3 separate regions of the Homo sapiens genome follow, and all the other regions are linked to region 3. Evidence: promoter capture Hi-C in human tissues and cell types (Jung and others, 2019). All regions are on one chromosome and are shown on one strand. The core of a region is centred on a gene start or on the middle of the fragment in contact, and the rest is flanking DNA. Distances in the headings are between cores, read along the strand shown.

The links. The method cuts DNA at HindIII sites, captures the fragments that hold promoters and counts their contacts. A contact is called where the count stands out against the background at its distance.
Region 1: a contact is called between a fragment that was not itself captured here and the fragment with the promoter of HSBP1L1 in region 3, in 4 of the 25 tissues and cell types used here (H1 embryonic stem cells, lymphoblastoid cells, mesendoderm cells and 1 more).
Region 2: a contact is called between a fragment that was not itself captured here and the fragment with the promoter of HSBP1L1 in region 3, in 1 of the 25 tissues and cell types used here (H1 embryonic stem cells).

Annotation. Positions count from the first base shown.
Region 1 is chr18:80,156,777-80,160,486 of GRCh38, reverse strand. It overlaps PARD6G (par-6 family cell polarity regulator gamma), which reads left to right. Exons shown (of 3, transcript NM_032510.4): 3 at 1-3,255. The coding sequence ends at 716. All of the region lies in intron 1 of PARD6G-AS1 (PARD6G antisense RNA 1), which reads right to left. Among named protein-coding and RNA genes, the nearest start is that of PARD6G-AS1, 11 kb to the right of the region's middle. RefSeq lists a silencer at 668-737. The HindIII fragment of the contact is 3,906 bases long and covers 281-3,710 here.
Region 2 is chr18:80,136,228-80,140,325 of GRCh38, reverse strand. ADNP2 (ADNP homeobox 2) reads right to left here. Exons shown (of 4, transcript NM_014913.4): 4 at 1-4,098. The coding sequence ends at 1,517. Among named protein-coding and RNA genes, the nearest start is that of PARD6G-AS1, 9.6 kb to the left of the region's middle. The HindIII fragment of the contact is 6,027 bases long and covers 1-4,098 here.
Region 3 is chr18:79,961,914-79,965,892 of GRCh38, reverse strand. HSBP1L1 (heat shock factor binding protein 1 like 1) reads right to left here and starts at 1,250. Exons shown (of 4, transcript NM_001136180.2): 1 at 1,107-1,250. The coding sequence starts at 1,157. RefSeq lists a silencer at 1,024-1,593 and an enhancer at 2,689-2,768. The HindIII fragment of the contact is 12,330 bases long and covers 1-3,979 here.

The DNA of each region.
Region 1 (3,710 bases), core at 984-3,483, 190 kb before region 3:
ACTTCCGCCCCGTATCATCCATCATCGATGTGGACCTGGTCCCCGAGACGCACCGGCGAGTGCGGCTGCACCGGCACGGCTGCGAGAAGCCGCTGGGCTTCTACATCCGCGATGGCGCCAGCGTGCGCGTGACCCCGCACGGGCTGGAGAAGGTGCCCGGCATCTTCATCTCGCGCATGGTACCCGGGGGCCTGGCGGAGAGCACCGGGCTGCTGGCTGTGAATGACGAGGTCCTGGAGGTGAACGGCATTGAGGTGGCCGGGAAGACGCTGGACCAGGTCACGGACATGATGATCGCCAACAGCCACAACCTCATCGTCACCGTCAAGCCCGCCAACCAGCGCAACAACGTGGTGCGCGGCGGCCGCGCGTTGGGCAGCTCGGGACCGCCCTCGGACGGCACCGCGGGCTTCGTGGGTCCCCCCGCCCCGCGCGTCCTGCAGAACTTCCACCCCGACGAGGCGGAGAGCGATGAGGACAACGACGTCGTCATCGAGGGCACACTGGAGCCTGCACGTCCCCCCCAGACCCCGGGCGCGCCCGCAGGCAGCCTCTCCCGGGTCAATGGCGCGGGCCTGGCGCAGCGGCTGCAGCGGGACCTGGCCCTGGACGGCGGCCTCCAGCGGCTGCTCAGCTCCCTGCGGGCCGACCCCCGTCACAGCCTGGCGCTGCCGCCAGGCGGCGTGGAGGAGCACGGGCCCGCGGTCACGCTCTAGACTCCCGAGAGGCCCCCAAATCCTAGCTCCAGTTCCCCGGTAAGGACAGGGACAGGACCTGCAGACTGCATCCGCTCATTTTTTGTTGTTTTTGTGACCACAAAAACAACGCTGCTCTTTGTTTCAACTTCCGGATATAAAAACACAAGTATTGCCTATTTTTATAGAATTTCGCCACAGAACTTAAAATGAACGCCTGTAGAGACACTCTATACCAGGCCTGAGTGCAGGTCTTGGCGCCTTTGCAAAGTGATAGAAAAGATCTGACCAAGTGCAAAAAAATGCTTTTTAAAATTTTTACAAATACTTTGTTTTTAAAGTGAAGCTTTAAAATTACTTTTTTAAAATAGTCAAATTCATGTTTTTAAGTAAGTTGGCCCATGCAACATATCTCAGCATTCTTGCTGTGCTCTCTGCTGACTTGCAGGCGAGGCCGACTGTGCTGATGTACGTGACAAGAGGCTGGTTTTTAATAACGAATGCAGCCAGGTGCAGTGGCTCACGTCTGTAATCCCAGCACTTTGGGAGGCCTACGTGGGCTGATCACGAGGTCAGGAGGTCGAGACCAGCATGGCCAACATGGTGAAACCCTGTCTCTACTAAAAATATAAAAATTAGCCAGGTGTGGTGGCAGGCGCCTGTAATCCCAGCTACCTTGGGAGGCTGAGGCAGGAGAATCGCTTGAACCCGGGAGGCAGAGGTTGCAGTGAGCTGAGATCGCACCACTGCACTCCAGCCTGGGTGACAGAGCAAGACTCTGTCTCGGGAAAAAAAAAAAATACACCCAAACCTGTCCATGTACAACCATGGAGATGAATTCCAGATTTTCACACTGTTCATAGTCATAATTCGGTTGGGACAGGAGAGCTCCCACCAGCACACTTATGGCACCCGCAGCTGTGGAATTGTTCCGGGGCTTTTTTTTGTTTGTTTTGAGACATAGTGTCTTGTTCTGTCATCCAAGCTGGAGGGATCTCAGCTCACTGCAACCTCCGCCTCCTGGGTTCAAGCAATTCTCCTGCCTCAGCCTCCCAAGGAGCTGGGACAGGCACATGCCACCATACCCAGCTAATTTTTGTATTTTTAGTAGAGATGGGATTTCACCACGTTGGTCAGGCTGGTCTTGAACTCCTGACCTCAGGTGATACGGTCCCCCCTCAGCCTCCAAAAATGCTAGGATTATAGACGTGAGCCACAGCACCAGACCAGGGGCTATTTTTGTGACCCACATAGGTGGCCCATTCAGCCTCAAGGGGAAATCCAGGGTAGGAAGCAGCAGCTCTGCTGGACTGGGCTCAGCAGTCCCATTTGGGATGTAAGCCTCTATTGCCTCTAAGATGACCCTTTTCCTGTGGGTTGACTGACTCTGAGGGCGATTTCGGAAATGTTTTCAGCAGAAATGAAGGATAAGCATCGCACATGTCCAGCAATGTCTTTGAGAATGCAGTCATTTGCACGTGAGTTCTCATCTTTGTTTTCTGAAACAGACGTTTCTTTTAGTAAGTCACAATACATGCTAATTTTCATTTCTAGAATGGTCACTGGCAGTTCTCACTTTTAACTATAAGAAGTCACGTGGAACTTAGTGATTTTTAACAAATACTAAATTCATCCTCACTTTATGTTGATCTTCCAGCAACGTTTATATATTTAGTAATTTTAAAAATTCCTATTTGATACAATTAAATTTTATATAATGTGTTTTGCTTGAATAAAATGTTACATTTATACTTTGAGAACTCTGACCAAATCTTTCATACAGATACAGGTAAAGAAATATTTTTCTAGGTTGTCGGAGCTGCGTACCTCCCGCTGCTTCTCCTTGTGGTCCAGCACCACCTGCTGGTCAGTGGCAGAACTGTCCTGACTTCGTGAACATGGAACTGCTAAGAGGGAAAACTGCATCTCAGCATTTTCATTTTTTCTGAATATTAAGTGAAAAGCAAGTTCTATTTTTAAGAAATAGCTTTTGCTGAGGAGTTGTGAATTCCTGCACCTGTGTTTGATGTTATTTGTATGCAATGGATTGCTGGCCCTTTGTTCCTAAGCAAGAGAAGACCAAAGATGCTTCCCCATGACCTCTCCGGTGAGGATCCGCACCCCCCGGACTTGCTCTCTGATGAAGGGCATGTCGTTCAGTGCCCCAGCAGTCAGAAGCAGTTTTTGTGGAACTAAAACTAATAATGTTACCCTCACAAAGGAAATGTTCTTTTACTAAGTTATTGCTGATTCTTGAATGTCTGTTATATAACTGGGTCGGCTATCAAGAAGGAAGGTTATATTTCTTATCACATTTTAAGTTGTTAAGCAAATGTGAGTTTTTTTTTAAGAAATGAGGCTTTCACTGAGATTTGTGTGCTATTCATAATTTTAGGAATTACTGCTTAGAACAGCTGCTTGGGTGTATTTTTCTACACAGGTCTGTACTTCTGCCACTTTCTCCTTTTAAAAAAACAAAACTATGCATATTATGTATTAAAGTTTTCTTGGTTTTATATATCAGAGAATAAAAACTTTTTTGACTTTTGAGTAAACAAAATGCATGAATATTTCACCTGTGTTCTAAGTGGAAGAGAATACCAGAGATAAAGTAATCCCTCAAAGAGAATGACAGATTTATCAAGTGCTTATCATGTACCATCTTTCACGGAATCCGCACATACTCTCTGAGGGACGCAGATGAGAAAATGGGCCCAAGCTCATCAGATAGACAGATGACAGTCCAGAACCCTCTCTCGAAGTCTTTTTGAAAAAGCTTTTCTGAATATTTATACAGCACACAGTCCTTCCTAAATGTGCCCTGGTTGGCACGGTTTTCATTAACACTGTCGTTCTGGCAGCCATCAAGAGTCAAATTACAATTACAAATTCAGTTACTCAGCAAATTACAGATGTGATCACATTGAGCACCAGCATCCTGGAAGCAGCACAGGTACCCTACTAGGAGCTTCACAAGTACTCGCCACCTGCTGAGTCCCCACAGCAACTCTGGAC
Region 2 (4,098 bases), core at 451-2,950, 170 kb before region 3:
TTAATTCAAAATAGACACTCTGAAAACAATAGGTAAAAAAAAAAAATGTTCAACAAGCTCTCTTTGAATTTACAACAGAGTACACCAACAATCATAAACCAGTTTCACAACTGCCTCAAATATGAACATTATAGCAATTACATGCAAGTATTATATTTTTTAAAATCCACATAGTAACATTATGTTTCTCAGAGGCTGTCACATCCTCCAAATATTTCTACCTAAAGATAGAGTGAAGGGGTTCCTCTGCTGTGTACCACCAGAAATATGACTTACCATCTAAACTGGCTGGTCTCCATGACTGGTTCTGGTGCTTTAAGTTTTAATATCGTGTGGGGAAAAAAACGAGGTTTAACATCCACAGGACAGTGACGACAATGGAGATTCTTTAACAATATGCCATCCCATCGACCCGGACACAGCTTCCAGCCTAAACCAGCTAGAGAAAAGCCCGTTTCTCCACTAAACATGACCTTCAGAAAATGTGGTCAAAGACTTACTGTACCAACCATGGAGACTGAGATCTCAGTCTGTAAACTTCGCCATGTCCCCTGAAACCCTATGCTGAAATTTAAGTTAGTTTTCACACTCAGGGGCAATAATCTTATTCCTGAGTATCATAGACCTTCCCTTTCACTAGTTTATGAGTAGTTAAGTTAGGAGAAGAGTTTTGGGGTGTATTCTTTCAATGTTTATTCTAAAGGCACTAAAAATTTATTGTTTTACCTCTGAACGGAGAAATGACTTAGCATATCAAAAGGGAAAATCTACACTGAAAAATATTTCTGCATCTACAGAATAAATTTATTTGTAAAATAACTCTTGATGTATGAGCTACATACCAGCATACCAGATGTCAAATTCAGTCTACTTTTAACAAATAAAAACATTTGATTTTCTATGAGTTATGGTTAAAAAAAAAAACAGCTATTAGGATAAACCTAAAAAAATACAGATCTAAATTATAATCTATAAGCAAAGATCTTACAAAGAAGTCAGCGTAAGTTAATGCAGTGCATCCTCAGGGAGCCTTATACATACATCACAGGGTTTGTACCCACGTCTCTGAACACTCACTGTACCATCTGCTGCTACAGGGAAAGCTGAAGGAGATCGATGCTTCCACTCGCAGTTAAATCAAGTATTCTGAAAAAGGCTGAAATGTCCTTAATGAAAAAGCAAATTATTTATAGATTTCAGTTTCTTATCATACGATACTGACACTAGTGGGAAAACAAGGCGTGCATGAAATATCAAAAGATTTCATTTACATGACAGAGAAAAAAACCTGAAAACAACTGTTCTGTTACAAATCAAACTGCAGGAAACAATAGATGTGAAATAACTACTGGCTTCCTGGTAACAGGGGTCTCTCCAGCACCTGAAGTAACTCTGCAGAGCAGCACAGTGACCACTGAGGTTGATTCACCAACACAGTGAGGACAACACTGTGAAATTTCAACTGAAAAAAATCTACCTACTACTTTAGAGTTACTTTTTTTTTTTTTTGCAAGTTTTATGGTTCATATTCAAAGTTCAATCTATGTTTCACATTTTTAAGTTCAGACATATCAAAGCCTAAAAGTACAGAAGGCTTGTGATTTTTTATTGCTTTCATGCAAATATACCTTCTTTTTCCAAAAAATGAAGCCACATCAATTTTCCACACCCAAAAGAGTGAGGACAACAGTTCTATTTCCTTTTTACTAGGATATGGTTTCTTATGGAAATAATCTTTAAGAAATTGCTTCTTTTCTTCATAAGAACGGCCTTCATATTTTTTAGGATCTAATGCTAAAATCTGAAGAGCCTCGTCCTTGACAATAGGTCCCTCTGTTCTGCTTTCATTCCTTTGTCTTTTAAAAGGCACAACACTCGTCACCTTTTCTGGACCCGGGGCTGCATCGGCATTTAGGATGGGAGGCTGCTCCTCCCCATGCCGCTGGTCTTCGGCCCCTAAGTGGCCGTCAGGCAGCTTTCTCTTAACAGAAAAACTGGAATCATGCATCACTTCACCACTGACTAAAAGCAGTTCACTGTTGTGAATAAAACCCGGCTGGGCCTGCAGGTCTGAGCTGCTGTCCTTGGGAGCACTTCTGCAGCGCACCAAATGGACGGCGATGGCAGCCAGGGTCATATTTCCCGTGTAGACCCCACAGCAGTGGATGCACTTGAAGGCGGGAGACTTCAGGACCGTGTGGACTGTGGGCATGATGTGGTGCCTCTCCTTCAAATGCAGCTCATAGGCCTCAGTTGTCACAAAGGGGCCAAAGCAAAAGGGGCAGGTGGACACTCGCTTGCCGGTGCTCCCGGGGGTGCCCTCAGCCTGAGGCCTCACCTTCACATACACAGGCACCAGTGACTTGGAGTGTATCCCAGCCAGGATTGCCAAGTAGACTTCCCGCTCCCCAAGCTTCTCCTTTGGCAATATGGTGATGAAATCAAGGTGGGGAAAGAGCAGGTTGCCATTGGCATCGACATCTAATTGAAAACCTCTGTTGCTATAATCCATAGGCAACTTCTTCTTCCCCAGGTGCCTATTCCTGCTGTGCTCTGAAAGACCTTTGATATCATGGAAGGTGCATGGACAGAACAAGCACCCCAAGCCATGCATCAGCAAGTGGTGTATAAGCTCTTCCTCAGAGACCAAGCACTTACAAGACAGACATCGCACCGTTTTCTCTCTCATCCACTTTAGAAATGGTGCACACGCTGCCAGTTTTTCAGGCTCAAGTTTCTCACCAGACTTGGACTCGCTGTGCTTATGCGCTACCTCCATGTGGACCTGGTAGACGTTGGACGGAAAGAGCTCGTTGCAGACAGGGCAGGTCTTCCACTGCTTGGCCTGTTTGAGCACCTGGTTTGTGTCTGCTGCAGAGGAGGAGGCCTGAACAAACACGCTCTGAGCAGCATTCACCAGCACTGGAGGAGAGGGCATGCCGGGCATGGAACCGGCCATTGGTGCAGCTGCACCTGACGGCAGGAGCTGGATGGGCATCTGGGGCGGAGCGACAGTCGCAAGGCCTCCAGGGGGAACCGGCAGAGTGACAGACACGGGGGCCAGCGTGTAGGTTGGAATCCCATTCACTTGTTTCCCTGTAGGGATGAGCTGTCTGAGAATAGAGCCTGATGTCAGGAAGGTGGTGTTCTGCGAAGCACCAGGTCTCACTGGCTGATTCACAGGCAGAATGTTGGTGCCCACAGTCTGGTTGAGTTGCAAGACCCCAGGCCTCACTGGCTGGCCCACAGGAAGAACTCCCGACACAACAGGCTGACTAAGCTGCAGAACACCAGAATTCACACCCTGGTTTACAGGCACAACAGCTGAGGAGGAGACTGTCTGGTTGGGAGAAAGAAGCCCAGACGGGACCACCTGGCCTGCAGAGATAACCCTCAATGGGGCTGTCTGGCCTGGGGGAAGAACCCGTGACGGAGCTGTCTGGCCCACAGGGAGAACTCCTGACTGGACCATCTGGCCAGTAGGAAGAACCCCAGAAGTTGCTGTTTGCCCAGGGATAACCCCTGCAGGAGTCATCTGGCCTGCAGGAGTCATCTGGCCTGCAGGAAGGACTCCAGACGGGACCGCCCGACTCACAGAAAGCACCCCTGGCGAGACAGCCTGCAGGACCCCAGGGGTGACAGAGGGGCTCACAGGAAGAACACCAGGCCCAACAGGTCTGTTTATGGGTCCCACAGGCTGGGTGAGGGGTAAAACCCCAGGGCGAACAGTCTGATTTATGGGGAGGACACTAGTTCCAACAGACTTATTGACAGGTCCGACTGGCTGACTCAAGGGCAACACAGGAGGATTCACAGACTGATGAAGTGGAACCCCGTGAGAAAGAAAGACGGGCTGAGGTGCTGGGGGCTGCAGGGTGAGGCTGTTCTGGCCCACAGGCAGAGGGCTGGAGACCAGAGTCATGTGGGATTGGCCAGCAGCAGGGGGGGAATGAGTGAGGCTTCCAGGGGCACCCTGGGCCACAGTCACTGGCTGTCCTGCGGCTGGGCTTGGACTGTTCTGTGGCAAAGCAAGATGGAAGCAAGGAGGCTGCGCTGGAGCGCTTGGAGCACTGCCATTTGCTGGTGCAGCCAAATGTG
Region 3 (3,979 bases), core at 1-2,500:
GACTTCTGACAAAGGTGCTAAGGCCTTTGGATTCAGAGGGAAAGGAAAGTCTTTTCAACAAGCAGCGCGGGAATCATGAGGGCCACGTGCAGACGGGGCAGGGACCCATCCCCCTCCTCACACCACACACCATGAATGCAGGAGATCACACACCTTGGCCCAGAGCCAAGGCCATAAAGCATGCAGAGGAGGATGCAGGAGAAAATCTCGTGACCCTGCGCTCCTCAAGAATTCTTATGAAATTACTTACCAGGTCACACAGAAATACCACCATTGCTACTGAAAGCGTTTCCTGTTTATATACTGCTTTGTAGTTTACAGACTGACGTCCCACACCATTCACGGTGTAATCTACTCCTCACCCTGCGACCGTGTCCAGGGTGAGATGAGAACAGTGAGGCTGAGAAGCACAAAATTCTCCCAGCTGGGGGTTCAAGATCCCAGGGAGCCCCACGTACCATGGTGTGAATCTAGAATCCCGTCGACATAGGAGGAGGCCCCACCTCTGAACCATGCCAGGGCTTTCTACCTTTGTCAGGAAATTTACGTTAGGGTTTGCACAACGCCCAACACATTCCTTCAGATTCCAGGTCTCTTCCTCATAGCCAGTCCTCTTGTGGGCCTGGAACTCTTTGGCAAGTAGGAAGGCCTGGGGAGCGGGAGGATTTCCCGGAAGAGGCCGGAGCCCTGGGCGCTGCGACACTCGTGGGTCCCCTTTCGGGCACCCTTTGGCCCAGTTGTTTCCCCACTGACCCCGACCTCAATGCCCCCCAGTACTGCAGGGCTCCCCCCAGGACCTCAGGCCCCCCGAGGATCGCAGGGTCCCCCAGGACAGCAGGGCTCCCCCCTGCACCTCAGGCCCCCCCAGGACCGCAGGGTCCCCCAGGTCTTCAGGGGCCCCCCCAGGACCACAGGCCTCCCAGGCACTCAGGACTCCTCAGGACCACAGGAGTCCTCAGGATCGCAGGCCCCCCAGGACCTCAGGGCCCCACGAAGACCGCAGGGCACCCCCAGCACCGCAGGCTCCCCCCCCAGGACCTCAAAACCCCCCAGAACCGCAGGGGCGCCCCCATCCAGAGAGAAGCAGGAGTCGGGGAGGGGCTCACCGCGTCCCGCAGCGCGCGCCCGCCGGGGGCTTCAGGGCCCCGCACGTCCATGTGGACCGCTGGCCGGGGGCGTCAGTGGGGGGTCCCGTGGGCCGCGCGGACCCGGCGCGAGGTGGCGACAGCTAAGCTCCGCGATTCCCGTATGGGCCGCCGGGAGGCCTCGGGCGGAGCGCGCTGCGTTCCAGGGCGGAGGCGGGGCCGGAGCGGAGAGGCGGGCGCTGCACCTGCAGGGACGCAATGTCACCGAGCGGCCGCCTCGGAGGACTGGTCCGCGCCCCCAGGCTCTGCGGCTTCCCGAGCCGAGCCGAGCCGAGGCCCCGGGACGGCCTGGGCGGAGCCGCCTTACTCAAGAGGGCCCGTGGGCGCCACCGGCCACCTACACCCCCAAAACGCTCCGCACGGGCAGTGCATGGGCCTCGGTCACCCCTGCTGCGTTTCTCAGAGACGGGGGCTCGCTCTGTGGCCCAGGCTGGGGTGCAGTGGCGACTATGGCTCCCCGCAGCCTCGACTTCCCGGGCCCAAGCGATCCTCCTGCCTCGGCCTGGCCAGTAGCTGGGACCACGGGCGCGCGCCACCAGGTCCGGCTGATCTTTTTTATTTTTTGTAGAGACGGGATCTTACTATGTTGCCCAGGCTGGTCTCGAATTCCTGGGCACAAGTGATCCTCCTGCCTCGGCCTCCCAAAGTGCTGGGACCGCAGGCCTGGGCCACCACGCCGGGCCTTCCCTGGCCTCTTTCACACCTGGGTTGTGGCTCGTCACCTTGTGGGTGACCTCCCAGGACGGTGTTTTAGGGTTACCAGTCTTGTTGCCATGTCTGTGCCCCTGTGCAGCGCTGTGGGAACAGGGCTATGTCTGGTCACCCCAGCATCCCTAGGGCACAGCCCAGTGACCACACCTGGAAGCTCTGGTGTCTCCATGTGCGGATAAATAAAACACAGCCACCCAGCACCACCGCTGTGGCGTGGCGGTTCCCGCCAGGTTACTTCAGGGCGGATGTCTGTGGCCTGAACCCTAAAGGCCAGGCGGTGAGTCCAGGCCACGGTGCCCAGCGAGGAGCAGGTGTCCCTGAGAACCCAAACAGCCCGGAGGGGATGTGAGAACCACCACAGGGAGCAGGCCCATCACACAGACGGCGCAAAGAGGCAGAAAATTAGCTCAAAAGCAGCTTAGGGACAGAAGCACGCTCATCTCTAGAGTTGTCCTGCTGCCCACGAGTGCCCCACATGTGAGTCCTAATAAACTCACCTACTCACCAAGCTGGACTCCGCCCAGTCATTCTTTGGTCTCTCAGCAACTCCCACTTTAGGGTAAGGTTTTAAATGTGATTCTCGGTTTTTCTCATTACAACCAGTCATCAGGAAAACACAAACCAAAACCACAATGAGCTCCCACTGCAACCCACCAGCATGGCTAGAATCAGAGAGACAAACGTAAGTCCGAGAGGCGTGTGGGGATTGTGGCCCCCCCCACGCAGCCGGTGGGCTGTGAAAGGCTGCAGTGCTGTGAAAAAGTCGGGTGGGTCCTCAGAAGTGAAGCAGTTTCCACAGGGCCCAGCCGCGCCACCCCTAGGCATATACCGAAACGACAGCGCGAGTGCACCAAGTCTACTGCAGCATCAGTAATGCTCAAAAGGTGGAAACCACCCAAATGTCCACCCCCAATAAGTAGGTGACAAAATGCAGATGATAGAATATTCCTCAGCCACACAAAGGAGTGAGGCGCTGACGCACGCTACGAAGCAGGCGGGCCTCCGGAACAACGCTGGGTGGCAGAGGCCAGGCGTGAAGACCCTGAGTGGTAAGTCCATGGAGAGTTGGAACAGGCAAGGCCACGGAGACAGAAAGTTGACTTCTGTTGCTGGGGGCTGCAGGGACGAGGGAGAGTGCGGAGAGATTTAGGAGGTCTGGGGTTTCTTTGTGGGGGGACAAAAATGTTCTAAAATTAGATCGTAAGAAGGTTTCACAACCCTGTAAATATACTCAAAACTGTTGAATTATGCCCTTTAAATGGGTGGGTTTTGTGGTATGTGAATTACATTTCAATGAAGCTGTTAAAATTATTTTTTAAAAGCATGGCCATTTTGCCACTTTTTGTGTGCTTTTAGCATCCTCCTCTTTTTTTCTGTCTCTGAGAGAGGCTGAGATACAAACTTAGTTGTAGGGGCCAGTGTGGACGGCTGAGAAAGACGCGGTGTGGGTGGAAAGTGGCTGCTGTGCTGTGGCTCCCGGCCCACTCCCAGGACCATTCAGGCCTAAGGAATCCTGCCGGGCGGCTTCTGGCTTCTCGGGAAAGCCAGTGTGGGTGGCTGCTGAGGAGGAGGAGGCAGGGCCAGAAGATGCCACAGTACAGGGTGGACGGCCTGCACCCAGGAAAGCCTGCCTGGCGTGGGGGGCAAGGAGTACAAGCCGGTGGTGTTTCCATCAGAAACACACCTCAGTGTCAAGAACCAGAAGTCACTCAAGCTAACTTAGGGGAAAAGGAAATTACGCCTGTAGAGAGGAGGCAGACACAGCGGGCTGGCGTCAGCCCTCCAAGCTCTTCAGAGGGCGCTCATCTCTGGAGGCGGGAGGAGATGGGCAGTGGTGCCCCACGGCAGGGCCACGACAGGGTTCCTCATCAGCCCACAGGCAGCTTTCCTAACCACAGACAGCTAAATGAGCAGGGAGCCAGTCAGACTGCCCTCCTTCCTCCCTTCCAGAAAGTTCTAGAACGTCCCCTCTTCCCTTACTCTGCAGGCACGGAGTTCCCGGAAGCTTTACTCCAGGGACAGCCCAGCATCAAGCTCATGGCTTCAGGGGACGGCTCCCTCGTGGTGGGGGCAGGCGCAGACCCAAGGGCTTTCGGTGTCTCCAGGGCGGGGCTGCTCCCTGG